Regions from separate parts of the Homo sapiens genome. Here all the other regions are linked to region 2. Evidence: promoter capture Hi-C in human tissues and cell types (Jung and others, 2019). All regions are on one chromosome and are shown on one strand. Each heading gives the region's core, a stretch centred on a gene start or on the middle of the fragment in contact. The rest is flanking DNA. Distances are from core to core; before and after follow the strand shown.

Region 1 (2,903 bases), core at 177-2,676, 1.0 Mb after region 2:
TGATGGATTCCAGCTTCATCCATATCCCTACAAAGGACATGAACTCATCCTTTTTTATGGCAGCATAGTATTCCATGGTGTATATGTGCCACATTTTCTTAATCCAGTCTGTCATTGATGGACACTTGGGTTGGTTCCAAGTCTTTGCTATTGTGAATAGTGCCGCAGTAAACATACATGTGCATGTGTCTTTATAGTAGCATGATTTATAATCCTTTGGGTATATGTCCAGTAATGGGATGGCTGGGTCAAATGGTATTTCTAGTTCTAGATCCTTGAGGAATCTCCACACTGTCTTCCACAATGGTTGAACTAGTTTACAGTCCCACCAACAGTGTAAAAGTGTTCCTATTTCTCTACATCCTCTCCAGCACCTGTTGTTTCCTGACTTTTTAATGATTGCCATTCTAACTGGTGTGAAATGGTATCTCATTGTGGTTTTGATTTGCATTTCTCTGATGGCCAGTGATGATGAGCATTTTTTCATGTGTCTGTTGGCTGCATAAATGTCTTCTTTTGAGAAGTGTCTGTTCATATCCTTTGCCCACTTTTTGATGGGGTTGTTTGATTTTTTTATTGTAAATTTGTTTAAGTTCTTTGTAGATTCTGGATACTAGCCTTTTGTCAGATGGGTAGATTGTAAAAATATTCTCCCATTCTGTAGGTTGCCTTTTCACTCTCATGGTAGTTTCTTTTGCTGTGCAGAAGCTCTTTAGTTTAGATCCCATTTGTCAATTTTGGCTTTTGTTGCCATTGCTTTTGGTGTTTTAGTCATGAAGTCCTTGCCCATGCCTATGTCCTGAATGGTATTGCCTAGGTTTTCTTCTGGGGTTTTTATGGTTTTAGGCTAACATTTAAGTCTTTAATCCATCTTAAATTAATTTTTGTATGAGGTGTAAGGAAGGGATCCAGTTTCAGCTTTCTACATATGGCTAGCCAGTTTTCCCAGCACCATTTATTAAATAGAGAATCTTTCCCCATTGCTTGTTTTTGTCAGGTTTGTCAAAGATCAGATGGTTGTAGATGTGTGGTATTATTTTTGAGGGTTCTATTCTGTTCCATTGGTCTATATATCTGTTTTGGTACCAGTACCATGCTGTTTTGGTTACTGTAGCCTTGTAGTATAGTTTGAAGCCAGATAGTATGATGCCTCCAGCTTTGTTCTTTTTGCTTAGGATTGTCTTGGCAATGCAGGCTCTTTTTTGGTTCCATATGAACTTTAAAGTAGTTTTTTCCAATTCTGTGAAGAAAGTTATTGGTAGCTTGATGGGGATGGCATTGAATCTATAAATTACCTTGGCAGTATGGCCATTTTCACGATACTGATTCTTCCTATCCATGAGCATGGAATGTTGGAACTTCCATTTGTTTGTGTCCTCTTTTATTTTGTTGAGCAGTGGTTTGTGGTTCTTCTTGAAGAGGTCCTTCACATCCCTTATTAGTTGGATTCCTAGGTATTTTATTCTCTTTGAAGCAATCGTGAATGGGAGTTCACTCCTGATTTGGCTCTATGTTTGTCTGTTATTGGTGTATAGGAATGCTTGTGATTTTTGCACATTGATTTTGTATCCTGAGACTTTGCTGAAGTTGCTTATTAGCTTAAGGAGCTTTTGGGCTGAGACAGTGGGGTTTTCTAAATATACAATCATGTCATCTGCAAACAGGGACAATTTGACTTCCTCTTTTCCTAATTGAATACCCTTTATTTCTTTCTCCTGCCTGATTGCCCTGGCCAGAACTTCCAACACTATGTTGAATAGGAGTGGTGAGAGAGGGCATCCCTGTCCTGTGCCAGTGTTCAAAGGGAATGCTTCCAGTTTTTGTCCATTCAGTATGATATTGGCTGTGGGTTTGTCATAAGTAGCTCTTATTATTTTGAGATATGTCCCATCAATACCTAGTTTATTGAGAGTTTTTAGCATGAAGGGCTGTTGAATTTTGTCAAAGGCCTTTTCTGCATCTATTGAGATAGTCATGTGGTTTTTGTCTTTGGTTCTGTTTATATGATGGATTACGTTTATTGATCTGCATATGTTGAACCAGCCTTGCATCCCAGGGATGAAGCTCCCTTGATTGTGGTGGATAAGCTTTTTGATGTGCTGCTGGATTCAGTTTGCCAGTATTTTATTGAGGATTTTTGCATTGATGTTCATCAGGGATATTGGTCTAAAATTCTCTTTTTTTGTTGTGTCTCTGCCAGCCTTTGTTATCAGGATGATGTTGGCCTCATAAAATGAATTAGGGAGGATTCCCTCTTTTTCTTTTGATTGGAATTGTTTCAGAAGGAATGGTACCAGCTCCTCTTTGTACCTCTGGTCGAATTCGGCTGTGAATCCATCTGGTCTTGGACTTTTTTTGGTTGGGAGGCTATTAATTATTGCCTCAATTTCAGAACCAGTTATTGGTCTATTGAGGGATTCAACTTCTTCCTGGTTTAGTCTTGGGAGGGTGTATGTGTCCAGGAATTTATCCATTTCTTCTAGATTTTCTAGTTTGTTTGCATAGAGGTGTTTATAGTATTCTCTGATGGTAGTTTGTATTTCTGTGGGATCGGTGGTGATATCCCCTTTATCATTTTTTATTGCATCTATTTGATTCTTCTCTCTTTTCTTCTTTATTAGTCTTGCTAGTGGTCTATCAATTTTGTTTATCTTTTCAAAAAAAACCAGCTCCTGGATTCATTTATTTTTGAAGGGTTTTTTGTATCTCTATCTCCTTCAGTTCTGCTCTGATCTTAGTTATTTCTTGCCTTCTGCTAGCTTTTGAATGTGTTTGCTCTTGCTTCTCTAGTTCTTTTAATTGTGATGTTAGGGTGTCAATTTTAGATCTTTCCTGCTTTCTCTTGTGGGTATTTAGTGCTATAAATTTCCTTCTACACACTGCTTTAAATGTGTCCCAGAGAT
Region 2 (3,088 bases), core at 589-3,088:
CCTGATCACTGGCCTGGTCTGTCTACATTCATCTGCCCCAGATCCACGGCTGAAACACTGACCTAAACCCTCAGACTAGATCCTCCGTGCCAGTACCTTCACTAGGATGTCTAAAAGACGTTTCAAGTGAACATGGCCAAAATTTAATTCCCTTTTCTTCAGCCTCACTGCTACACTTGCCCAGCTTCCTCTTTGCAGCAAAAATGGCCACTAGGCTCCCAGTTACTGGAGACAAAAGCCCAAACTTATCTTTGATTTCTCCCTTGTCTCTACCTCTGATAAACATGCCCAAATCATCCTGCTTCTTATCTCCATGGCTACTTTATTTCTCTTTGAGAACGCTGCAATGTCCCAGCCTTGTTCTTTTTTTTTTTTTTTTTTTTTTTGAGACAGAGTCTCACTCTGTCGCCAAGGCTGGAGGGCAGTGGCACGATCTCGGCTCACTGCAACCTCCGCCTCCTGTGTTCAAGCAATTCTCCCACCTCAGCCTCCCGAGTAGCTGGGATTACAGGCACCCGCCACTACGCCTGGCTCATTTTTTTTTATTTTTTAGTAGACATGAGGTTTCACCATGTTGGCCAGGCTGGTCTTGAACTCCTGACCTCAGGTGATCCACCCGCCTCCGCCTTCCGAAGTGCTGGGATTACAGGCATGAGCCACCGCGCTCGGCCCCTTGTTCATTCTTTGCATTCTGTCACAACTTTGTGCTCCCCCCAGCTGAATTTGTGATGTCCTCTTGTACCGGATGAGAGGGTCTCCATGCACACACAGACCTGGGACACTATCCATCCACAAGTTCCTAAATAGGCCAGAGCAGTGATGCTCAACCCAGACTCCATGTTACAATAATTTGGGGAGTTTTTAAAATTTACTGATGCCTAGGGTCCACTCCCAGCAGTTGATTCAACAGGTCTGCGGTGGGATCCAGGCTAGCGGGGAGGACTGTAAAAGCACCCCTGGTGATTCCAGCTGGTGTCTACCCAGGGGAGAGCAACCTTTGCTTGCTGGCGATTCCCAGGGGTGCAGAAGGACTGCTGGGTGTGTGGCTGCGTGCATATTTTAGCATCTGATTCACTGGGTCAGAAAAGGGTGTTTGCTAAATAAAGACTCAACAAAACTCCTGCTTGCAGGGGGCCCACCAAAGGTTCTAAATTTTTCCAGGCTCCCTCCCATAGGTGGTAATTTCCCTTCACCCTAAAGGTTCTGGAGGGGGTCATGAGTGTTTGAGAAGAGGCAAGCCTGGGAAGATGGACTCCGAGGACAGTAGGCACAAACCCTTTCTCAAGAAGGGCCAAGGCATTTTAAAGATAAGAAACTTAAAATCAGCGTATTTTTACATATAAGCAGCCACCTCTGCTCATCTGTGGCCCAGATACGAGTGGAGTGCGACAAGGGATAAACCATTTTCGCGCACTCTTCAGCGATGGGGCGAAAGTAACGGACCTAGTCCTCGGGAGCTGTCCCCGCCGACCCCCTCTGCCGCGACTTGACCCGCGGCGACTGCGCTGCCCCTTGGCTGCCCCTTCCGCTCTCGTAGGCGCGCGGGGCCACTACTCACGCGCGCACTGCAGGCCTTTGCGCACGACGCCCCAGATGAAGTCGCCACAGAGGTCGCACCACGTGTGCGTGGCGGGCCCCGCGGGCTGGAAGCGGTGGCCACGGCCAGGGACCAGCTGCCGTGTGGGGTTGCACGCGGTGCCCCGCGCGATGCGCAGCGCGTTGGCACGCTCCAGCCGGGTGCGGCCCTTCCCAGCGCGCCCAGCGGGTGCCAGCTCCCGCAGCTCAATGAGCTCAGGCTCCCCCGACATGGCCCGGTTGGGCCCGTGCTTCGCTGGCTTTGGGCGCTAGCAAGCGCGGGCCGGGCGGGGCCACAGGGCGGGCCCCGACTTCAGCGCCTCCCCCAGGATCCAGACTGGGCGGCGGGAAGGAGCTGAGGAGAGCCGCGCAATGGAAACCTGGGTGCAGGGACTGTGGGGCCCGAAGGCGGGGCTGGGCGCGCTCTCGCAGAGCCCCCCCCGCCTTGCCCTTCCTTCCCTCCTTCGTCCCCTCCTCACACCCCACCCCGGACGGCCACAACGACGGCGACCGCAAAGCACCACGCGGAGATACCCGTGTTTCTGGAGGCCAGCTTTACTGTGCTAGAGGAAGAGGGTCCCCACATCCGGCCCTGGCCCTCCTGGTCCGGTTTGCTGAAGCAACACACTTGGCCTACCCACTGGGTGGGGCAGGAAGTCTCGAGCCTTCACTTGGGGTGAGGAGGAGGGAGATCGGTCAGCAGCTTTACCGCCCGCTCTGCTCTCCACTGCGGAGACTGGGGCTCCGGCAGAGGCTGGACCGTGATCTTGAGGTTCAGGGGTGCATTCTGGGTGGATTCCCTTGGCATGGGTGGTCGGCCCTCAGCAACTGCAGCCCTCATTTGGCTCTGTCACCCTGGGCTGCCAGGACACAAGTCTTTCCATGCTTTTCCCAGTGCTTGACTTGGCACTCCCTGCAGGCAGGTGGGTATTGAGGATGGCAATGCATGTGGGGGATGTGGGAGTAGGGCTTAGAGGTCCAAGGTTCTAGGATACCCTCACCTGCAGCAATACCACTCATTCTGGCATCGTGAGCAGCGCTTAGAAGCCTCTGCACTGCAGTAAGCACAGCGGGGCCGCTCTGGAGCCACTGCCTCTAGCACATCCAGCCTGTAGGTCTCAGCCCACCTGGGGGAAAGTCAGGAAGGTCTGACTGGCCCTGGAAGGTGGGGGCACCCCACCCACATCCATGCCTCCTGCATCCCCTCCACCCTCCCTGCCATTTCCACAGGCCTTACCTTCGCGCCTGCAGCCGCAGGTCCTGCTCTGAGGGGCTGAACACATGCTGGAGCTGGTGCTTGGCAATTGCCTGCCACTTGCCTCTGTTTTCTCGCTCCAGCCGCTCCCAGATTTCTGGGATCTAGGAGAGAGAAGTGGAGAGTGGCAGGAAGGTGCTGGTAAAGTGGGACAGTGGTCCTGAGCAGCTAACTTTCCAGTGCCTACCTGTTCCAACACCAGGTCCTTCTTAGGAGGCTGGGTTTCAGTTAGGGTCAGATGGGCCAGGAAACTCTGCA
Region 3 (3,052 bases), core at 507-3,006, 1.2 Mb after region 2:
CTGAGTAGCTGGGACTACAGGCGCCCGCCACCACGCCTGGCTAATTCTTGTATTTTTAGTAGAGACGGGATTTCACCATGTTAGCCAGGATGGTCTTGATCTCCTGACCTCATGATCCGCCCGCCTTGGCCTCCCAAAGTGCTGGGATTACAGGCATGAGCCACCGTGCCTGGCCAGTGCCTGGTACATATTGGTACCCAGTAAATAGTTGCTGAATGGGGAATTTTATGGCGTAGCAATTATGCTAGGCCGTCATTAGATACTGGGGTCGATTTTTAAAAAATCTCCTAGGACATTATAATCTGGGTGATGAGTGGTATACAAGCAGAAAAGGTAAAAATATCCCAAGAATGGGATGACTGTTGAAGAAAGCAATACAACCCTTTGTCACCTTGGAATCTGGTTCAGAGTGATCATGGCTTTGGCATTCAGAAGTGAGGGGGGGCCATTAAGTGTGGCTGGTGGGTGCAGGATTGATCTAACTCTCACGGAATAAGCAGGAGGTGAAACAGATAAAATGAAGAGGGTGGCTTGAACCTGGGAGGTGGAGGATGCAGTGAGCCGAGATCACGACACTGCACTCCAGCCTGGGTGACAGAGCAAGACTCCATCTCAAAAAAAAAAAAAAAAAAAAAAATGAAGAGAGTGTTTTTCCATGTGTGTTTTCATGGTGATGAAGAAAACCTTGTTCTGGTTTCTGATTAACCAACAAGTCCCTGGTGAATTTTGCCTAATCCCAGAAGGGCAGTCCCAGATCTTTTAAACTCACTTAAAGGTATAGCCAACAATAGGCAGGTGTATGCATAAATCACTCTAGGGACTTCCCCTAATAGAACCAAATCTTTCTACAGGTGAATTTTGGGGTACCATGAATCTCAGAGGTTGTTGTGCGGGCATGACATCATCCAAGTAGTCAGGGAATTTCTAGAAGGGTGGGGAAACAGATGTTACAGAAGGACAATGCCATCCTGGGAGGAGGGAATGGAAGAGGCTTCCATCACCAGGGGAGCTAGCTCTGGCCTTTGTGGCTCCTACTTTAGTGACATGAGAAAGGTAAGTGTCTATGTTTTGGTGGTTGTGCCTTAAGTCTTTTAATTGGGGGCCAGGGGATGGGGGTGGGGGGATTAACAATAGGAGTGTGTGTGTGTGTGTGTGTGTGTGTGTGTGTGTGCGTTTAAATATATCTGGCCAACCTGACTGGTTTCTTTCTCCTCTCTTTGGTAGTCTCTGGGGCTTTCATGTGAACCTGTTTCAACTCCTGAGGCCAAATATGCTCTATGTGTCACCCGGAGAGTCCCAGCTAAGAGGCCAAATGAGTAAAATGCAAGACATGAAGCTGGGAGGGGTCGGAATGCTGATCTGACCTCAGGCTGCTGGAGAGAAGTTAACTAGCTTTTTAAAATTTTTATTTATTTTTTTAAGAGATAGTGTCTTGCTATATTGCCCAAGCTGAACTTGACTTCCTGGGCTCAAGTGAGCCTCCTGCCTCAGCCTTCTGAGAAGCTGGGACTACAGAAATGTGCCACTGCACTTGGCTGGAACCAGCTTTTGAGGCATTCTTTGCCTCTGAAGAACCTAGGATGAAGTTCCTCTTACCTGAGGAAGCGGAGAAGCTTCCAGAGGCTTTGACTGTGCTGCTTTCTAACCCATGAGCCTGCTGTTTCCAGAAGGAACACTCTATTAGTCTGTTCTCACACTGCTATAAATAAATGCCTGGCACTGGATAATTTATAAAGAAGAGGTTTAATTGGCTCATGGCTGTACAGAAAGCATGATGCTGGCATCTGCTGGGCTTCAGGGGAGGACTCAGAAAACTTACATTCATGGTGGAAGGCGAAGGGGGAGCGAGCACCTCACAAGGCTGGAGTAGGAGGAAAAGAGAAGTGGGGGGAGGTGCCATACACTTTTTTTTTTTAAGACAGCCTCACTGTTGCCCAGGCTGGAGTGCAGTGGCACAATCTCAGCTCACTGCAATCTCCACCTCCTGGGTTCAAGTGATTCTCCTGCCTCAGCCTCCCGAGTAGCTGGGATTGCAGACACACACCATCATGCCTGGCTAATTTTTGCATTTTTAGTAGAGACAGGGTTTTGCCATTTTGGCCAGGCTAGTCTCAAACTCCTAACCTCAGGTGATCCACTTGCCTCGGCCTCCCAAAGTGCTGGGATTATAGGTATGAGCCACCGCGCCTAGCCGACACCATACACTTTTAAACAACCAGATCTTGTGAGAACTCACAAGAAGAGAACCAAAGGGACAGTGCTAAGCCATTCATGAAGGATCTACCCCCATGATCCCATTACTTCCCACCAGACCCCACCTCCAACATTGGGGATTACAATTCAACATGAGATTTGGGTGGGGACACAGATCCATATTAGATAGCAAAGTGCCTTTTGACAGGCAGAACCCTTTCATTACCTCCAGAAAATAATATAAATGAAAAATCAGGCATATATGTGTCTCAGAAGCCAAGGGGGTATGTAAAAATGGGAAATTTGAGAACACCTGAAAATTAGGATTTTTTTTGGAACACCTTCTGCAGATCTAAATTCCCATCAAGAGTTAGCTCCAAAAATAACCGCATCTGGTATCTTAGAGGTGTGAAGGCCTAGAAGAAAAGGAAAGTGGGGACGAGAAAGGAATTGCTATCCTCTTGATTTTATGAGTAAAATACAAAGCCTTCAAAGAAAGATGCACTTTTGTAATTTAAAACATCACTTTGTCGGCCAGAGGTGGTGGCTCACGCCTGGTGGCCCAGCACTTTGGGAGGCAGAGGTGGGCAGGATCACCTGAGGTCAGGAGTTCGAGACCCGCCTGCCCAATATGGCGAAACCCTGTCTCTACTAAAAATGCAAAAAATTAGCGGGGCGTGGTGGCGGGCGCCTGTAATCCCAGCTACTCGGGAGGCTGAGGCGGGAGAATAGCTTGAACCCAGGAGGCGGAGGTTGCAGTGAGCCAAGATCCCGCCACTGCACTCCAGCCTGGGCGACAAGAGCGAAACTCCTTCTCAAAAAAAAAAAAATCATTTTGTCAACATTCACTTATTGGGAA

The links. Contacts are between HindIII fragments. The study calls those that stand out against the background at their distance.
Region 1: a fragment that was not itself captured here is called in contact with the fragment with the promoter of RASSF1 in region 2 in 1 of the 25 tissues and cell types used here (dorsolateral prefrontal cortex).
Region 3: a contact is called between a fragment that was not itself captured here and the fragment with the promoter of RASSF1 in region 2, in 4 of the 25 tissues and cell types used here (bladder, dorsolateral prefrontal cortex, hippocampus and 1 more).

What each region holds. Positions count from the first base shown.
Region 1 is chr3:51,363,772-51,366,674 of GRCh38, forward strand. All of the region lies in intron 49 of DOCK3 (dedicator of cytokinesis 3), which reads left to right. Among named protein-coding and RNA genes, the nearest start is that of MANF, 20 kb to the right of the region's middle. The HindIII fragment of the contact is 3,213 bases long and covers 1-2,903 here.
Region 2 is chr3:50,338,998-50,342,085 of GRCh38, forward strand. RASSF1 (Ras association domain family member 1) reads right to left here and starts at 1,839. Exons shown (of 6, transcript NM_007182.5): 1 at 1,559-1,839. The coding sequence starts at 1,808. It overlaps ZMYND10 (zinc finger MYND-type containing 10), which reads right to left. Exons shown (of 12, transcript NM_015896.4): 9 at 3,018-3,088; 10 at 2,813-2,934; 11 at 2,577-2,702; 12 at 2,115-2,488. The coding sequence ends at 2,413. RefSeq lists enhancers at 944-1,767, 1,768-2,590 and a silencer at 1,579-2,098. The HindIII fragment of the contact is 7,648 bases long and covers 1-3,088 here.
Region 3 is chr3:51,534,935-51,537,986 of GRCh38, forward strand. It overlaps LOC105377085 (a long non-coding RNA gene), which reads left to right. Exons shown (of 3, transcript XR_940835.3): 2 at 852-1,053; 3 at 1,225-1,735. Among named protein-coding and RNA genes, the nearest start is that of RAD54L2, 2.3 kb to the right of the region's middle. The HindIII fragment of the contact is 7,506 bases long and covers 1-3,052 here.